Regions from separate parts of the Homo sapiens genome. Here all the other regions are linked to region 5. The links are contacts of gene promoters, found by promoter capture Hi-C in blood cells and fetal thymus (Javierre and others, 2016). All regions are on one chromosome and are shown on one strand. The core of a region is centred on a gene start or on the middle of the fragment in contact, and the rest is flanking DNA. Distances in the headings are between cores, read along the strand shown. Region 1 has its middle 3.0 kb from the start of USP13. Region 2 overlaps ACTL6A (actin like 6A). Region 3 overlaps ACTL6A (actin like 6A). Region 4 has its middle 2.9 kb from the start of MFN1. Region 5 holds the start of DNAJC19 (DnaJ heat shock protein family (Hsp40) member C19). Region 6 overlaps NDUFB5 (NADH:ubiquinone oxidoreductase subunit B5).

Region 1 (2,974 bases), core at 186-2,685, 1.3 Mb before region 5:
AGCTACTCAGGAGGCTGAGGCAGAGAATTGCTTGAACTCGGGAGGTGGAGGTTGCAGTGAGCCGAGATCACACCACTGCCCTCCAGCCTGGGCAACAGAGTGAGACTGTCTTAAAAACAAAAACAAAACAAAACAAAACAAAACAAACAAAAACCAAAAAAAATGTACTTGCATGTAGGACAACACAGAAAGTATAGTGATGGAATATACTGTATGATAAAAATGATACAAACACCATTTAGTTGCCGTCAATAAGAAATTTACTTGTTTTTAAAAAAATCCAAATGCTGGCATTGTCCAGAAAAATTTAACACGTTTATTATAATTATTATAAAGTTAAACTGCTGAAACTTGTTCACTGAAACATTTTGACTCGCATTAATGCTTTACGTCCCCACATTTATATTAAAAATTCACACACAAATGAAAATGGAAAAACTGCCAATACCTGATTTCTGTCCCCTATTTTTCCACTCGCAATCATATATACTTAGTACGTTTTGACCCCATGGGAAAAAAAAAATAGATAACGTTCAGAACTACCAACAACAGGTAAAAGAAATTGTGTGTGTGTGTGTGTGTGTGTGTGTGTGTGTTAGAATGAAGTGTTTCCCATCATAGTGGCTTCTTTTTTTTTTTTTTTTTTTTTCTGAGACAGGGTTTCGCTTTTCTTGCCCCAGGCTAGAGTGCAATGGCGCGATCTCGGCTCACTGCAACCTCTGCCTCCCAGGTTCAAGCGATTCTCCTGCCTCAACCTCCTGAGTAGCTGGGACTACAGGCATGCGCCACCACACCTGGCTGGTTTTGTATTTTTAGTAGAGATGGGGTTTCTCCATATTGGTCAGGCTGGTCTCGAACTCCCGACCTCAGGTGATCCGCCCGCTTCGGCCTCCCAAAGTGCTGGGATTACAGGCGTGAGCCACCGTGCCCAGCATAGTGGATTCTTAAGCACATTCTTCAGGTATGTGGTGTGTTAGCTGGATGTCTTTTGGCATAATTGTTACATGTTCGGCATGGATAGCACACAGGTTGGTGTCTTCAAAAAGACCAACCAGGTAGGCCTCACTTGCCTCCTGCAAAGCACCAACAGCTGCACTCTGGAAGTGCATATCTGTTTTAAAGTCCTGAGCAATTTCTCGCACCAGACACTGGAAGGGAAGTTTGCGAATCAGAAGTTCAGTGGACTTCTGATAACGTCTAATTTCACGAGTGCCACAGTACCAGGTCTGTAATGATGAGGTTTCTTCACCCGTCCAGTAGAGGGCGCACTCTTGCGGCGTTTGTAGCTAGTTGCTTCCTGGAGTTTTTTTTGTTTGTTTTTTTTTGCTTTTTGTTTTTTTTTTTTTTTTGTTTGAGACGGAGTCTCACTCTGTCGCCCAGGCTGGAGTGCAGTGGCGCGATCTTCGCTCACTGCAACCTCCGCCCCCCAGGTTCAAGCGAGTCTCCTGCCTCGGCCTCCCGAGTAGCTGGGACTCCAGGCGCCTGCCACCGCGCTCAGCTATTTTTTTTTTTTTTTTTTTTTTGTATTTTAACTAGGGACAGGGTTTCACCATCTTGGCCAGGCTGGTCTTGAACTCCTGACCTCGTGATCCACCCGCCTCGGCCTCCCAAAGTGCTGGGATTGCTTCCTGGGTTCTTTACCACCAATTGATTTTTGGGCAGTCAGCTTTGTACCAGCCATGGTATAGTGACCTCCTTACTTAGACCCGTTCTTCTGCTGGAGCGTGGCGAGTGACAGGCGGCGCTGGTGTTGGAGAGCGATGGCTGAGTTTTAATTAACTTTTAAAGCAATACTTGAGGCCGGGCGCGGTGGCTCACGCCTGTAATCCCAGCACTTTGGGAGGCCGAGGTGGGAGACCAGACTGGCCAACGTGACGAAACCCCGTCTCTACAAAAAAAAAAAAAAAAAAACAACAAAAAATTAGCCTGGCGTGGTGGCGTGCATCTGTGGTCCCAGCTACTTGGAAGGCTGAGGCGGGAGAATCGCTTCAACCCAGGAGGCGGAGGTTGCAGTGAGCTGAGAGCGCGCCATTGCAGTCCAGCCTGGGCGACAGAGGGAGACTCCATCTCCAAAAAGAAAGGGGGGGAAAAAGCAATACTTGCACATAATACAAATGGAATCATACAGAAAGCTACAAAGTGGTAGTGTAGTAATCTGTTTTCACGCTGCTGACAAAGACATACCTGAGACCGGGCAATTTACAAAAGAAAGTTTTATTGGACTTACAGTTCCATGTGGCTGGGGAGGCTTCACAATCATGGTGGAAGGTGAAAGGCACGTCTCAGATGGAGGCAGACAACTGGAGAGAGCTTGTGCAGGGAGACTCACGTTTGTAAAACCATCAGCTCTTGTGAGACTTATTCACTATCACAAGAACAGCACGAGAAAGACCTGCCCCCATGATTCAATTACCACCTACTGGGTCTCTCCCACAACACGTGGGAATTCAAGATGAGATTTGGGTGGGGACACAGCCCTACCATACCAGGTAGTAAGTTCTCCCTTAACCTCAGGCTTTCAGTTCTTCTCCACAGAGCCTGACTAGTTTCTTGTGTATTGCTCTAGAGACATCCTAAAGCCAAACAAGTGGGCATGCATACACATATGTATATTTTAAGGGGCTACATTAAAAATATTTACTACAAGTACAACCAACTGGAATGAAGGCCCATGGTATATAGGATGTGCCAAAATGCCTACTGCATATTATCAGCCTTGCATGTATTCCTTGCTTTTATACACTAGTTTGCTTAAATTGCTTTTATCATCTAGTAATAATTTGGAGATTGTTCCACATCAGCACACGTAGAGCAACTTCATTCTTTTCAATGGTACTGTATTTTAACCACTTTCTACAGAAGGATCTTTAGGTTTTCCCCAGACGTTTGTTACTCGAAACAGTGCTCTAACAAATATCTTTACACAGCCTTAATTTATCTGTTGCATAAATGTCTAGACAAGGAAATGCTGGGG
Region 2 (3,023 bases), core at 74-2,573, 1.4 Mb before region 5:
AAGTAAATGTCATTAAGTACTCATTCAAGCCTTCTGACAGTTTCTGTTATTGCCTTAGGTTGGCATCAAGCCATCACACCTAAACCCTCAGTCTTCCTTGCCAGATATTTTCTAAATCCTGACAATGTAACAGATACAGAAGGACTTAGTATTCTTTTTAACCATAAAGGCAAGGCTAAATAGTGTGTTTGGATGGTTCTGGAGGAGGGCAGAAATAATCGAGTACTATTTTGGGGGACGGGACTCTTAAATGAATTATTCAAAGTTTAGGAGTTACGAAAATAAGATATTAAAAAAAACGCTGGTGCAGTGGCTCACACCTATAATTCCAGCACTTTGGGAGGCTGAGGCAGGAGGATCACAGGTGCCCAGGAGTATGAGACCAGCCTGGGCAACATAGTGTGAGACCCCATCTCTACAACAATTAAAATTAGGCAAGGTGGCATGCCCCTGGAGTCCCAGGCTGAGGTGGGAGCATCCCTTGAACCAAGAAGTTCGAGGTTGTAAGCTACAATCACGCCATTGCACTCCAGCCTGGCTGACAGAGCAAGACCTTCTCTCAAAAAAAAAAAATTTTTTAAGCCATTTCTAGTAAGAAGTAAGGCATAATTATATAAATTTCTTTCCATTTTACAGGGTACCTTTCAACAGATGTGGATTTCCAAGCAAGAATATGAAGAAGGAGGGAAGCAGTGTGTAGAAAGAAAATGCCCTTGAGAAAGAGTTCCCAAGCTTCTACCTTCCTTTTGTCACCTTACGTTTCATAGCTTTAGTATACTCAGGAAAAGAATGACCATCTTTTGTAGAATGTTTATACATTTTTGCATATTTCAATTTCCACTTAAATTTTTTAAAGCTTTAACTGGCTCTATAAATTAAGTTTGTGCTTTCCTTGAAATGCACTTATTCTTATTACAAGCATTTTATAATTTTGTATAAATGTCTATTTTCTCTAAATATTTTGCTTTCAGTAAAATGCTTTCCAACTCTGTTTAGTGTATTAATTACCAGTGGATTGGTAGAACTGCTTTTTATTGACTAGTAAAAGTTACTGCCTATGCTTTTTACCTTAGGCTTACAGAATTAAATAAAAATTAGCCATTCCAGAAATATATTTTGGACTGTTGTGCACTGTGATTACTACTTTAAGGACTAAATGTATTTCTCATTATTTTGAATCAAAGTCCTCCGTTTATTAACAGCAATACCCACATCCTCTTCATAGCCTATTAACAACAGAGGTAAAACTATTATTCAAATTCAAAAACTACGGTATTGCCTTTGCTGTGGCAGTTACCATCACCTTCACACTCTAAGGTAGCAGGTGACATTTAAAGCCTGCTTAAATGTCAGAATTTATAAAGTGGGAATCTCATCTGAACTTTATACCTGATTTTTAGAAGCAAATTAGCTTCTACCAAATTAGCTAATTAGCATGCCATATTCACACTTAGAACAACTGATTAGTAAAGTCACTTGACTAAAAACAGAATTTCTTTATAAACCACTTAACATATTTACTCCTGTACACAGACTATTCAAGAAAAACAAAATGGTAAATTTAATAGTTCAGACATCTTAGACAAGACTTGACTTTTGGGCTTCAGCAAGATGTGGAAACTTTTTTAAAAGAATTTTTGCTTTCTTTCTCTCTAAATTTTCCTTCCGTGCTTTGATGCGGGCTCGTTTCTCACGTTCCAGTCTAGAATAAAAAAAGCGTAACAGCAATTTATACAAAAATATTTCCTTGTTATTCAATACTATCAAAATATGCATAAATCAATTACATCAAAGCTTCAAACATGCCAGTCCCTGTATTTGGTGTGTTATATATATTATTAAACTTGAATAGTAATCACTGTAAACCTACACAAGTCAAGAGCATCTGAAACCCTATACCAACTATCCCTATTTCCTGACTAGAAAGAATGTCCAGATATTATGAACCTGTAACAAATTGGGCCTTAAGTTCAATCCTCATATGACTAAGCATCATCTCTTAGCAGAGTGTTATTCTGTGTATAGGGGAAATGATAAGCTAGAGTGAGTACTATTTGAAAGTAGGGAATTCCCATAAGTCTCAGGATATCTCTCATGATGCCAAAAATAAATTCTTAGGCTCTGGCTAGACTTACTATTCTTTAAATGAGTTTGTTCCCACACATCAGTATCCCAGGGTATGACACATTTGCTGCATAAATTACAACATAAATTACTTGACCTGTAGGGTCAACTTGGGAGTTGTAAAAATTGAAAATGAAAAAAATCCTTGCATACCAAGCTCTATTTGAATTGATATCTTACAGGATATTGGTCAATAGAAATAAGTTTATATAAAATACAGCAATAAAGATGTACTGCTGAAGTTATTACAAATGAGGTTTTGGGGGGAAAAAAGACAATACAATATGCCAGTGCTATGGGAGAGGTCATAGAAAATTGAGATAACACGTATTACAGCTGGATGAAGTAAAAAATATGCACATATATAGGAAAAAAAGTATAAAGGCTGAACAAAGTCAAAATGAGATTACCCATTCTATTCATCAGTCTTTGCTCCAACTAAATTTTGACCATTTACAAAAACAAAGACCCATCTGAAAGAATAAAGGTTTGCTATTCTTAATATTAAGATGATGATGCTACATTCTGAAGGTGAGGCTTAAAAAGGTAGTTTCAAAAACAAAATCATTAGAATATGTATAAAACCTGTAAAAGTGATACTGGATTGATACATTCTCATACATTATTTTAAAAGTTATGTCATGGACAGGTGCAGTGGCTCACGCCTGTAATCCCAACTTAGGGAGGCCGAGGTGAGAGGATCACGAGGTCAAGAGATCAAGACCATCCTGGCCAACATGGTGAAACCCTGTCTCTGCTAAGAATACAAAAATTAGCCAGGCGTGGTGGCACATGCCTGTAGTCCCAGCTACTCAGGAGGCTGAGGCAGGAGAATCGCTAGAACCCGGGAGGTGGAGGTTGCAGTGAGCCGAGATCGCACCACTGCACTCTAGCCTGGC
Region 3 (3,402 bases), core at 98-2,597, 1.4 Mb before region 5:
CTTTGGGATGCTGAGGCAGAGGATTGCTTGAGCCCTGGAGTTTGAGTCCAGCCTGGGCAACATAGTGAGACCTTATGTCTACAAAAAATTTAAGAAATTCATTGTAGTCCCAGCTATTTGGAAGACTGAGGCGGGAGGATTGCTTGAGCCTAGGAGGTTGAGGCTGCAGTGAGCTGTGATTTTCATATGATACTTTTGCAAGCTGTTAATGCTAATTATCTTTAATCTTTTCAGATGAAGTTGGAGCCCTTGTTTTTGACATTGGATCCTATACTGTGAGAGCTGGTTATGCTGGTGAGGACTGCCCCAAGGTAAGTGTAATGTTAGAGTTAATTGGATATGTAAAGCCATTCATGTAAATTAAATTTATGCAGAAATTCTGATTCAAAACAAAATATAATAAAATACATTAATTGGGGAAAAAATGCCTTCTTGATGAAAGGTGAAACTTGTATGTCATGTTTCTGACTCTTACAGGTGGATTTTCCTACAGCTATTGGTATGGTGGTAGAAAGAGATGACGGAAGCACATTAATGGAAATAGATGGCGATAAAGGCAAACAAGGCGGTCCCACCTACTACATAGATACTAATGCTCTGCGTGTTCCGAGGGAGAATATGGAGGCCATTTCACCTCTAAAAAATGGGATGGGTATGATGTTTTCCCCATGGAATTGATTATGGAGTGTACATGTTATATTTTAGATACAAAGTAGTAGCTTCCTATAAGTTGAACATCAACCATGGTTTTTTGTTTTGTTTTGTTTTTTATTCCACAAACTGATTTCCAGACACTGAGAATACAAAGATGCATAAGAAATGTTCCTTTTCATTAAAAGCTTACAGTTAGTTGGGGGAAATAGATGTATATATACAAATAATGGTACACTGTGGGATAAGTGGTACAATATAGGTATGTGCAATGAGCAATGGGATTAGAGAGGAGAGGTATTTGACTCTAGTGTTGGGAGTCAGTGATGGTTTTCACAAAGGAGGTAACATGATGAATCTTGATCAATGAGTAAGAATTAGCTTGGCTGACAAAGCTGGGTAAAGCAAAGGGACCAGCATGTGTGAAGGGATGGAATTGTGAAAGAAACTTATGTGCTTGAAAATGTAATACAATTAAGTATGGTTGCAGCATTGGGCTTATTAGGGTCAGTAGCAGGAAAGGTAGGCAGAGAGCAGTAGCAGGAAAGGTAGGCAGGGAGCAGTCATAAAAGGGCTTGTAAACCATCCCAGGGTTGTATTAAGCTAGTGACTGAAGGATAACCCCAAAGGAATTTAAACAGATGTGATGGTCAGAGTCCAGATGAGAAATGAAAAAGGTTTAAACTATTATATAATGCTGGTAGAGATTCTGAAGGGACTTTCAGGGTAACCAGGAGACAAATGGTACTAAATGATCGAGGGAGTGAAAGCAAGAGAGAAGTTGAGAAAGTTTCCTAGATTTTTGGTTGGGGTAACTCTGAACAGAGAGTACCATGCATTGAGATAGGAATATAAAGGGAAGGAGCAAGTGTTACGGTTTTAAAAGGCATGGTTGGCCATGCGTGGTGGCTCGCGCCTATATAATCCCAGCACTTTGGGAGGCTGAGACTGTGGGTGGATTGCTTGAGTCTAGGAGTTTGAGACCAGCCTGGGCAACATGGCGAAACCCCATCTCTACTAAAAATACAAAAATTTGACAGGTGTGGTGATGCGTACCACCTGTAATTCCAGCTACTTGGGAGGCTGAGGCATGAGAATCACTTGAACCCAGGATGCAGAGGTTGCAGCTGAGATCTCATGACTACACACCAACCTGGGTGACAGAGTGAGACTCTGTCTCAAAAAAAAAAACAAAAAAAAAAAACAAGCTTATCAGGGATAGCCAAAATCACTCTCAGGTTCAATTATTCACCAGCAAGACTCACTCACAGGACTCAGCATATGGTTGTATTCACAGCTAAGATTTATTGTACTGAAGATTCAGATACAAAACAAAATCGACAAAGGGAAAAGGGACAGGGGATGATGAAGTCCAGATACAGGCTTTGGAGAGTCTTCTCACAGTGGAGTCACACAGGATGTGCTTAATCCCTCCAGCAACAAGTTATGATCTGTGTTACCTTCCAGGAGAACTCTGAGGCTCAGTACCCAAGGATTTTACAGAGGGCTGGTTATGTAGGTACCATCTACCTGGCATGTAACAAAATTTTAGATTCTCAGAAGGAAAGCAAGTGTTCAGAACAAACCACATTGTATAAACAGTGTAGGTATAGCGAGCTACCCTTACCATTTAGGGACAAGTTTTATATGAACATAGGGAACTGTTTGCCAGTCATGTTTCCAGACACCAGCTAAGAGTCAGCCTTACAAGCAGGCCTTTCTCAGGCTTGCAGTGTTAACTCTTTCATGTGTAGTAAGTAAATGGGTTCACTGAGTTCAAAGTACTTAGAACATCCAGGTGATAATTCAGTAAACGGGAATAAAAGGTTATAAGAAAGATTTTAAGACATGGAGTTGCATTTTATTACTCTGAAAAAAATTGGAACATGAGAAGAGGATTGAAGATGGAGTTCTAGCAAAAACTTGTTGTATATTTTAACCAATAGAGAATAAAAGGTACCCTTGAAGGAGAAAGAAAGGGAACAATTAGGGATGTAGGAAAAAAAGCAGGGGAAGAACAAGAAAAGAAAAAGTTTCTGGAAGCATAAAATTCCAGTTATTCTCGGTGTTTTCTGCTGTGACATTGAAAGCTTTACACTAAGAAAGAAGTTAAAAAAATCCAGGTGGGCCTGTGGAAATATATAATTAATGACATTTTTTCTTTGGGCTGTGACAGAAAAGTTTGTAAACTCTTGTGTAGGCAATACTGTCATAATTTAGAGAAGTCAGATGAGATTAAAAATGTTAAGTATCCATGAATTTGCCTAGTAGAAGGTCATTAGTGGCTGGGGGCGGTGGCTCACGCCTGTAATCCCAGCACTTTGGAGGCTGAGGTGGGTGGATCACCTGAGGTCAGGAGTTCGAGACCAGCCTGGCCAACATGGTGAAACCCTGTCTCTACTAAAAATGCAAAAATTAGTTGGGTACGGTGGCGGGCACCTGTAATCCCAGCTACTCGGGAGCCTGAGGGAGGAGAATTGCTTGACCCCAGGAGGCGGAGGTTGCAGTGAGCTGAGATTGTGCCATTGCACTCCAGTGTGGGGGACAGAACGAGACTCCATCTCAAAAAAAAGAAAAAAGAAGGTCATTAGTGACTTATGTCAGTAGTTTTAATGGAATGTTTAGGTGGAAGCCAAATTGAAGACAGATGCTCTTCTTTGAATTTTTAACATGTCTTTTAGTCTTTTTCCAAATAGATTGTAAGTTTTTTTGAGTGTCGGGTCTAGACCATACAATTCTTTCTTTTTTTTT
Region 4 (3,249 bases), core at 130-2,629, 1.6 Mb before region 5:
TTTTCTTAGTCCATGGGTTCTGCAACTCCTTAAAACAAGCTTGTCCAACCCACGGCCCAACACAAATTTGTAAACTTTCTTAAAATGTTATGAGATTTATTTGCAATTTTTTGTTTTGTTTTGTTTTCGAGCTCATCAGCTATTGTTAGTGTATTTTATGTGTGACCAAAGACAATGCTTCGTCCAGTGTGGCCCAGGGAAGCCAAAAGATTGGACACCCCCTTCCTTAAAAACTTTTTTTTTTTTTAACCTTAAAAACTTCCATTTTTACAGGCTGGGCGTGGTGGCTCACGCCTGTAATTCCAACACTTTGGGAGGCTGAGAGGCAGGTGGATCACCTGAGGTCAGGAGTTCGAGACCAGCCTGGCCAGCATGGTGAAACCCTGTCTCTACACAAATAGAAAAATTAGCCAAGCATGGTGGCGGATGCCTGTAATCCCAGCTACTTGGGAGGCTGAGGCAGGAGAATCACTTGAATCCGGGAGGTGGAGGTTTCAGTGAGCCTAGATCGTGCCATTGCACTCCAGCCTGGGCAACTGAGCGAGACTCCTCAAAAAAACAAAACAAAACAAAAAGACTATTTTACTATGCTTCTATTTAACTAACAGCTATGGAATATCTACTATCAAGCCAAGTGCTCAGGAATACAAAGATAAACTATGGTTCTTGACCTCAAAGAGATTTACCATATAATGCAGGAAACTGTCACCTTTCTGAACTACAATTCAATTAAATATCAAATTGACTTTCATGTATCCAAGTATTTGCCTTTTGTATAATGCTACCTACCATACACGTTCTTGTCAGTTTTTTATATACTTGTGATTCAGTACTTCCAAAATATATGCAGAATGACTAAAGTTTATACTCCCATCAGCAAGATCATGTTTCCGCACAGGCTTATCAACAATATCATACAACTTTTAAATTTCCTGTAAATCTTAAGGTCATAAAGTAGTACATTATTATTGTTTAAATTTGCATAATCTGATTACTAACAAGGTTGAGACTATCTAATATGCTTATTAGTCATTTTAACTTTCATTTTGTGAACTGCTTCTCCCTATCCTTTGTCTGCTTTTCTGTTGGGTTTTCTGCTCTATTTTCCGAAGTTCTTTATTTTTAACTATTGATTTTTGTTGGCAATATATACTGCAAAAAATAGATTTCCTATGTGTCTGTTATGGATGACTTTTTTGAACAGAAATCCTTAAATTTAATGTAATAGATTCATCACATTTTCCCTTTACATTGTACCTCCTGTCTGTTAATTTTACAAAATTCTCTCCAACTAAAATGTCCCCAAATTATTTTCCTACGTTTTTTCCTAATTTTCTGGTTTTACTTTTCTTTTTTTTTTTTTTTTGAGACGGAGTCTTGCTCTGTCGCCCCGGTTGGAGTGCAGTGGTGAGATCTCGGCTCACTGCAAGCTCCGCCTCCGGCATTCACGCCATTCTCCTGCCTCAGCCTCCCGAGTAGCTGGGACTACAGGCGCCCGCCACCACAACCGACTAATTTTTTTGTATTTTTAGTAGAGACGAGGTTTCACCGGATTAGCCAGGATGGTCTCGATCTCCTCACCTCGTGATCCGCCCGCCTCGGCCTCCCAAAGTACTGGGATTACAGGCTTGAGCCACCGCGCCCGGCCTGGTTTTACTTTTCATGTTCAGGTCTTATACCCATCTGAATTTGTATATAGATATGATTCAAACTTTATTTTTGTTAATTAAATTGAACCAATTTCTCCAATGTGATAAAATAATTTATCTTACCCAGTGATTCATAATACCAATTTTATCATATACCAACTCCCCATGGACATAATTAGCATGTAAATCTGTGTCTTACACAATTACATTCCATCGTTTGTTCCTCCAAGAGTATCACATACTTTAATAGTAACAACATGCTTTAAATATTAAGAGTTGGGTAAGTATAGGCAGAGAACAAGGGAAATAAAGAGAAATGGTTGATAATTTAAAAAATAATAAATATTAGAGCTTTGCTTATAGCAAATAAAAAATAAATGTTAGGACTTATTATAAATATTAAACTTTAGCAAGTACTTCTTCTGCATGTATTGAGATAAATGTGGGTTTCCTCCTTTGGTCTGTCAGTATTATGGATTATATTGATTTCTGTTTGATGATTTCTGTATTCCTAGGAAAACCCTACTTGGATAAAAAAATAATTCTAATACAACGTTGGCCTCAGGTAGCTAATATTTCCTATGTTTGCCTCTGTAGTCCATAAGTGTGAATTTTTTTTTTTTTTTTTTCTGGAGACTGAGTCTTGCTCTTTCGCCCAGGCTGGAGTGCAGTAGCGTGATGTTGGCTCACTGAAACCTCCGCCTCCCGGATTCAAGTGATTCTCCTGCCTCTCCCTCTGGAGTAGCTGAGACTACAGGCACCTGCCACCACGCCTGGCTAATTTTTGTGTTTTTTATTAGAGACAAGGTTTCACCATATTGGACAGGCTGGTCTCGAACTCCTGACCTCATGATCCACACGCCTCATGATCCAAACTGCTGGGATTACAGGCGTGAGCCATCGCACCCGGCAAGATTAATCTTTTCGTTAAACATGTAATAGAAAGTTACCCCGAAAATCATCTAGACCTGGCTAGTTTTGAATATGTGGGAAACTTAGCCTATTCGAGTTTTCTATTTTTTCTCGGTCTAATTTTGGTATTTGATGTTTTCCCAGATTTTATACTTCATCTAAGCTTTTCAATTTGTTGGCATTTATATATATATCTATAGTTATTCTCCCCTTAATTTGTGTCCTTTCATTTTTTATGTTCTTGAACAGATTTGGCAGTGATACATCAAATTGATAATTTCTTTCAAATAACGTTAGTTTTTGTTAATATCTATGTTGGTTTTAGCGTTTATATTTTAATTCTTTTCCTTCTTTGTGTTTACTCTCCTGGCTTTTTGGTAATATGTGTGTTCCACACACACACAAAAGCAATGGATTAAATTTCTTATTACTTACTATATTAAACATTTAATTACCGTGCTATAATTTATAGCCTGTAATATGTCACTCTTGCTTTAAAATGCAGTAATTATATTAAATATAATTATTAAGTACAGAACTAATAAAAGGATACCATCATGATTTTTAAAATTCAAACAGAGTAAATGTTCCCTTTGAGACTACCTATGCTCAGAACTGATGGATTAGCTGGCACGACCCAGACCGATAAACTGGCTCATCTGACCTAGTGTCCCCCAACCCAGGAACT
Region 5 (3,161 bases), core at 496-2,995:
ATAGAAGCAGCAAAGAATTAACAAAGTCTTACAGATTTTGGTAGGCTTTGAAAAACTTGTTTTACTTGAGGCTCCATATGCTTCATGGCTTGCAAAACGTAACGGCCTAAAACCAAAAGCAACAGAATAAGTAAACTAAATCTCCAATCTCCCCGACTTCACTTCCATCCCCAAACCATAAACAAACCTGCAAATCCTGCAGCAGCAATGGTCAGTCCAACTGCTACCACTGTACTGGCCTGGTAAGGGGGAGAAGAGTAAATATTTACTTCTCTAATTCCCACCCTTTCTCATTTTGCCCATTCTTCCATCCCCAACTCATTACAAACTGCATTTTAATAGGAGAAACAACTTTTTTTTTTCTTTTTTTTTTTTTTTTTTTAAGAGACGGAGTCTTGCTATGTTGCTTAGGCTGGTCTTGAACTCCTGGCCTCAAGCAATCCTCCCACCTTGGCCTCCCAAAGTGCTAAGATTATAGGCATAAGCCACCATGCCTGGCAGAGAAACAACTTTTAAGGCGGAAATATTCTGTCCAGTAATCTTTAAAACTACTGCATCTGTTATGCTGAATGCATTAAAGTTACAGGATTCATCATATGGGAAAGAGGGCAAGTTCGACTTGCTTATTTATCTTTACAATAGTGAAAAAGATGATTCCCTCCCTTTGAAAACTTCTTTCATCACCAGACAAATTAAGTCACATTAAAGTTCAATCAAAAGTAGTGGAAATAGGCCAGGCGCGGTGGCTCACGCCTGTAATTCCAGCATTTTGGGAGGCGAGGCGGGCGTATCACTAGGTCGGGAGATCGAGACCATCCTGGCTACCATGGTGAAACCCCGTCTCTACTAAAAATACAAAAAAAAAAAAAATTAGCTGGGCGTGGTGGTGGGCGCCTGTAATCCCAGCTACTTGGGAGGCTGAGGCAGGAGAATGGCGAACCCGGGAGGCGGAGCTTGTAGTGAGCCAAGATTGTGCCACTGCACTCCAGCCTAGGCGACCGAGCAAGACTCTGTCTCAAAAAAAAAAAAAAAAATGTGGAAATAAGGTTTCTGCTACAGAAGGAAAAACTGTTTACAGACGGCTCCTGTAAAATTCTAACAACGCATTTTCGAGGCTAAACGTGGGCTAAACTAGGAGACTAATACCTTTGGCACTGCCCTGTTGTTTCCTAACAAGACAGGCCCAAATATGTTCAGGAAGCATGGAGAAGACATCTGTCAGCAAAAGCCAAAGAGAAGGACATAGCAAAGTGGAGCTAGTGCTGTGAAGATGTGTTAGGGCAAGGGCACTTATAATCAAATACGTTTCCACTAATCTCCGAGTCCATGACAGCCTCTGACCTTACAGGAGTTCCAGGCAAGCAACACCTGCAGAGCCCGTGCGGACAAGAAGCTGGAGAACCGTGCAGAAAGACGATGTAAAAACACAAACCCCCAAGAGAGCGAGCCAACAGGGTTGTGTCCTGGTGAGTGTGACTCCCCAATAACCGAAACCTCCCGCCCGCAGTCGCACTAAGGAGCACAACTTCAACTCCACACCTCCGAGGCGGGGAGCTGAGGTTGAGGCCTGGGCCGGAGGTCGCCAAGAAGACCGGAAGGCCGCACTCACCATGGCTCCGGCTGGGCTCCCTTGCTTCCACCGGGAGCACGGCTCATCCCAGCTCAGAGGCCGCGGCCAACACCTGCACGCCTTTACCAGAGAGCGACGCAACCCCCAACCTCAAGCACAGGCGCCCTACGCAACACGGCAGGAGCAGCCGCAAACTAGGCCGGAAAACTGTCGTAAAAGGGGACGCGGAGGAGAAGGAAAGTCGCTCAAGCAGTGGACAGAGCGGAGAAAGCGACTTCGGGTTGGTTGAAGGGTGGGCGGATCTCTTTATTTCTGGGTGTAGGGGTGGGGCTTCTCTGTGTTTTCTGTCCTTTGCTCCTGGGCGGTGGGTATTTGGAAATTCTTGCAGGGAAGGGCATGGGCAGCCTTACTCAGACCGATTTTTTCCCCCTACATCTTAGCACCTCGTTTTGCCTTTATTTTATGTTAATAATTGTCAAGGGTAATGAATGTAGTTAAACATGCTGTGACATTTCCACCACGAACCCAAACAAATATGTTGTAACCCAGTGTAGGAAACGAGATGCCCAGAAAAACAAATGAAACCAACCACACTGTGTTTCAGGGATTGCTCGGTAGCATTTTTTAATGTAAAAGAACTTCATTTAAGGATGTGACTTGACAAGACTTTGTGAATATTTGGGTTTTCGTTTTGTAGAATGGGATTAAAGACAGTTCATATTCTGAACATGGAATGTCAAGATCCTACAACTGAAAAGGGCTATTTAAAAGTTTTCCTCCTCACCCAAAATAAAAAGTAGGGCTGGATTTTGCCCTTACGTGGACATCAGTTTCATACATCCCTACATAAATGCTTGAGAAGAAAAAAATAATGGAGACAATAATGGAATTTTACAATGCAACGTTTGCATGATCAAAATAAGTTTGGAGTTACTTCCCACTCAGAATTTACAGTGTTAAATATCCGTTTACATTGCAATGCAATTCTGCTTTGATGAGTTTGTTAGTTATTAAACAAATATGCAAAATTTTTGGGTTTGTTTTCCTCATCTGTAAAAGCAGTTTGCATTTGATAATCCAAGAGCTCTTCTAGCGCTAAGGTTTTTGTGATGTAATTTATTGTCAACACATGATTTAAGGTGACATCCAGCACTAAGACACTAGCATTAAGTTTATAACTTCCTCTTTTGCCTCTCTTTTATCTGGTTTTTACCCAACAATTACAAAATAAATAATCAAGTGAGGCATAAGACCTTGGGACCAAATTGGCATCAACAAGCTAGAATGCTATCTGGAAAAATTTATTATGCATATTTTTGGTATGTACAAACTGTGTAATGCAGTTTCTGGAGGAATAGATTTACAGTAGACTCTAATTAGCTTTGAGACTTTACAAAACCCAGACTCAGGAAATTGGGAGTAGCAACACAGCAAGACATTTTGTTGAGCTGGAGATAGCTCTTTTTTTGGTGGCAGATCAAACTGGAGGTAACCTGGCTCTGTCACTTACTAATACTGTGACTTGGAAAAGTTATTTCTGATTGAGTTTCTTCCTCATTTGTAAAATGAAGGTAATGATAACTACCTTGCC
Region 6 (3,381 bases), core at 391-2,890, 1.4 Mb before region 5:
CCTCCATGCCCGGCTAATTTTATGTGTTTTTAGTAGAGATGGGGTTTCATCATGTTGGCTAGGCTGGTCTCGAACTCCTGACCTCGTGATCCACCTGCCTTGGCCTCCCAGAGTGCTGAGATCACAGGCGTGAGCCACCCCACCTGACCTCAAGCATCATTTTAAGGGTTTAAAGTATTAATTTATTTAATCCTCTTCATTAGATATATACTGTAAGCTATTTGCCCTGTGCAATAGAAGCAGGTAAAGAGGAAGTGAAACACTTAAAGTCAGAAAGTTGTCTCCAGCCTCAAAATATCTTGTTCTCTTTTTACCCCTATTCTCCCAGTTTAATTTGAATTATGCCACTCCACAGGATGAGGCAATATACATAGGGATTTGCTGGAAACATGATGCAAAGAACCAGTGGTATTTAACAAATTTCCAGCAGGAATTTGAACTTGTTACAAAACTACATTCCTTGATGAAAATCCCTTTATAAGCCATTTCTGATTACAGATATTCTCATATAGCCAAATACAAATCCTTCAAATACTCGCTCTGGTAGTATTCAATCAAATCCAGCTGGAGATAAACTGCAGCAAAATTTCACCCCCAGTTTCTCTTTCCACATTATTGCCCTTTCTTGGGGTTCTCAAAGGATCATTACCGTGTTCTGCGCCCTTTCCAATCAGAGCAGGGAAGGTTCTAATAGCTATGTTTACTAAAGGTTACTGTGTTTTCAGCTGTGTACCTGCTTTCAAAGGTATTTTGCATCTGTCACTGTGATATGAAAGCTTTTAATCTCTTACATGGTTGTTTATATCTGTCCCTACAAGAATGTAAGCTCTAATGTAGTAGAGAGCCTGTCTTGTTTTGTTTTTTCTGGAGATAGACTGCCTATCTTCAAATTCTGGCTCTAGAATTCAGAAGCCATGTCTGTGATCATCACATCTTGGAAGCTAAAGTGGAAGACACCTAATTGCTCATAACCTGCATTTCCTCCTCTTTAAAAAAGATGAGAATTTTAACCTGCCTCAAAAGGTAGTTGTGAAGAGTGAGTGGAAAAAATCAACAGTGCCTGGCAGCAGTAGCCTTTAAAAAAATTGTGGTAAAGTACACATAACATTTACTATTTTAACCATTTTTAAGTGCACCGTTCAGTGGTATTAAATACATTCCTAATGCTATGCAACCATCACCATCATCCAACTCCAGAACTTTTTTCATATGGTAAAACTAAAACTCTGTATCCGTTAAACAATAACTCTCCATTCCCCTTCCACGTAGCCCCTGGTAACCACCATTCTGCTGTCTTTATGATTTTGACTACTCTATTTCTCATGTAAGTAGAATCATATAATATTTGTCTGTCACTTAGCATAATATCCCCAAGGCATATTTATGTCGTAGCATATGTCAGAATTTCCTTCCTTTTTAAAGCTGAATTGTCCGTTGTCCATTGTATGTATTTACCCCATTTTGCTTATCCATCATCTGTCAATTGGGTTGCATCTAGGTTTTGTTTGTTTGTTTGTTTGTTTTGTTTTTGAGACAGAGTCTTGCTCTGTCTTCCAGGCTAGAGTGCAGTGGCACCATCTTGACTCACTGCAACCCCTGGCTTCCCGTGTTCTCATATCAAACTGAAGGTCAGGCTGCTATTTCTTGCCATCCAATAATGAGATGCAGATGAACTGGGGAGGAAGAGAGTTTTTTTTTTGTTTTGTTTTGTTTTTTTTTGAAACAGAGTCTCACTCTGTTGCCCAGGCTGGAGTGCAGTGGCGCGATCTTGGCTCACACAGCCATCTCTGCCTCCTGGGTTCAGGCGATTCTCCTGCCTCAGCCTCCTGAGTAGCTGGGATTACAGGTGCACACCTCCATGCCCGGCTAATTTTTTGTATTTTTAGTAGAGATGGGTTTTCACCATGTTGGCCAGGCTGGTCTTGAACTCCCGGCCTCAGGTGATCCGCCCGCCTTGGCCTCCCAAAGTGCTGGGATTATAGACATGAGCCACCGCGCCCTGCCAGAAGAGAGTTTTTATTCCTGTAACTGGTTACAGGGAGAAGTCCTGGAAATTATCGCCAGACCAACTTAAAATTACAGTTTTCCAGAGCTTGTAGACCTTTTAAGCTATATGTCTACATGTAAGTGTGCACTTATCTAAAGACAAAAGTGACTAACTTTTTAAAATCTATAATTAAGGTCTGAGTCCTGAGGACCTTCCTCTGGAGCCTTAGTAAATTTACTTAATTTAAATGGATCCAGGTGCTGGGGTGATTACCCTTATCTTATCTCCTGCTAAATCACGGAGGTTTGGGAAGTTCCTTCAGACCTCCAGTCAACTTGTTTGTGGAGGCCTGGGGAGTTTCTTCAGACCCACAAAAACTTGTTTAATCCTAAATGGGTTCTGTTAAGAATTCTTTCGAACTCCTGTCCTCAAGTGATCCACCTGTCTTGGCCTCTTAAAGTGTTGGGATTACAGCTGTGAGCCACTACACCGAAGCACTTGCAGATTTTAATTACTGTAAAGCTTCACTTAACATCATTGGCTCTTGAAACTGCGACCGTCAGAACCTATAATAAAGAAGGAAGTGATGTTGTTTAAGGACCTGCTGTATGTGGTTTCACTTAAAGTCACAGTTTCCAAGAACTCATCAGTGACATTGAGTATGACTTGTGTTGTGAATAATGTTTCTGTGAACATGGATATACAAATACCTCTTCTGAGACCCTGCTTTCAATTCTTATGGGTATATCTGCAGAAGTGTAATTGCTGGGTCATGTGTGTCATGGGTGTTACTGGCTGGGACTGGCATTGTGGGTGGTGAAAGAATTTACCAAGACAGTCATAGATACAGAGGACAGATTTATTAGAGAAAATACGAAGATAGAGTTGCAAGAGAACAATGGGCAGCACAGCAGAGAAGGGGCTATCTGCAGAGTCAGGGACTGGAGGGAAGTTTTATAGGGTCATACTGAAGGGGCTATGAGCAGAGAAGATGTGCAGATAAGGTCACTCTACTGGGGCTATGTGTTGAACGAGGTATTTGGGAACAGGATGTTGTGCCTGTGGGTTGCCTGTGATTAGCCGTGTCTCAGCAGAATTGCTTTCCTCCACCTGGGGCCCCTTCCTTGTTGCTTATGTATCTTACTAGGATTCCACAATATGGTAATTCTGTTTTTAATTTTTTGAGGAACCCTCATGCTATTTTCCATAGCAACAATACCATTTTACATTCCTTTGTTTACCAACAGTGTACAAAGATTCCACTTCCTCCATATTGTCACTGACACTTGTTATTTTCTGGTTTTTTGATTGTAGCTATTCTGATGGGTATGTGATGATATCATTGTAGTTTTGATTTGCATTTCTCTAATTAGTTTTGTTGAGCATCTTTTTGT

Evidence for each region. Contacts are between HindIII fragments. The CHiCAGO score rates a contact against its expected background, and 5 or more counts as called.
Region 1: a fragment that was not itself captured here is called in contact with the fragment with the promoter of DNAJC19 in region 5 in 2 of 17 cell types (fetal thymus and activated CD4 T cells); the score reaches 8.3 in fetal thymus.
Region 2: a contact is called between a fragment that was not itself captured here and the fragment with the promoter of DNAJC19 in region 5, in 2 of 17 cell types (total CD8 T cells and naive CD4 T cells). The highest score is 5.9, in total CD8 T cells.
Region 3: a contact is called between a fragment that was not itself captured here and the fragment with the promoter of DNAJC19 in region 5, in 1 of 17 cell types (monocytes). The highest score is 5.7, in monocytes.
Region 4: a contact is called between a fragment that was not itself captured here and the fragment with the promoter of DNAJC19 in region 5, in 3 of 17 cell types (naive CD8 T cells, total B cells and activated CD4 T cells). The highest score is 9.2, in naive CD8 T cells.
Region 6: a contact is called between a fragment that was not itself captured here and the fragment with the promoter of DNAJC19 in region 5, in 1 of 17 cell types (naive CD8 T cells). The highest score is 5.3, in naive CD8 T cells.

What each region holds. Positions count from the first base shown.
Region 1 is chr3:179,648,518-179,651,491 of GRCh38, forward strand. It overlaps the pseudogene H3P13. Among named protein-coding and RNA genes, the nearest start is that of USP13, 3.0 kb to the right of the region's middle. The HindIII fragment of the contact is 5,252 bases long and covers 1-2,974 here.
Region 2 is chr3:179,587,294-179,590,316 of GRCh38, forward strand. ACTL6A (actin like 6A) reads left to right here. Exons shown (of 14, transcript NM_004301.5): 14 at 637-1,114. The coding sequence ends at 717. It overlaps MRPL47 (mitochondrial ribosomal protein L47), which reads right to left. Exons shown (of 7, transcript NM_020409.3): 7 at 992-1,702. The coding sequence ends at 1,579. Among named protein-coding and RNA genes, the nearest start is that of MRPL47, 16 kb to the right of the region's middle. The HindIII fragment of the contact is 938 bases long and covers 855-1,792 here.
Region 3 is chr3:179,569,590-179,572,991 of GRCh38, forward strand. ACTL6A (actin like 6A) reads left to right here. Exons shown (of 14, transcript NM_004301.5): 2 at 235-311; 3 at 478-652. It overlaps LOC124909462 (a long non-coding RNA gene), which reads right to left. Exons shown (of 2, transcript XR_007096181.1): 2 at 1,934-2,181. Among named protein-coding and RNA genes, the nearest start is that of ACTL6A, 8.4 kb to the left of the region's middle. The HindIII fragment of the contact is 1,020 bases long and covers 838-1,857 here.
Region 4 is chr3:179,343,188-179,346,436 of GRCh38, forward strand. No RefSeq gene overlaps it. Among named protein-coding and RNA genes, the nearest start is that of MFN1, 2.9 kb to the right of the region's middle. The HindIII fragment of the contact is 2,685 bases long and covers 38-2,722 here.
Region 5 is chr3:180,987,991-180,991,151 of GRCh38, forward strand. It overlaps DNAJC19 (DnaJ heat shock protein family (Hsp40) member C19), which reads right to left and starts at 1,746. Exons shown (of 6, transcript NM_145261.4): 1 at 1,610-1,746; 2 at 188-239; 3 at 33-106. The coding sequence starts at 1,612. The HindIII fragment of the contact is 8,604 bases long and covers 1-3,161 here.
Region 6 is chr3:179,606,489-179,609,869 of GRCh38, forward strand. All of the region lies in intron 1 of NDUFB5 (NADH:ubiquinone oxidoreductase subunit B5), which reads left to right. Among named protein-coding and RNA genes, the nearest start is that of NDUFB5, 3.4 kb to the left of the region's middle. The HindIII fragment of the contact is 1,733 bases long and covers 775-2,507 here.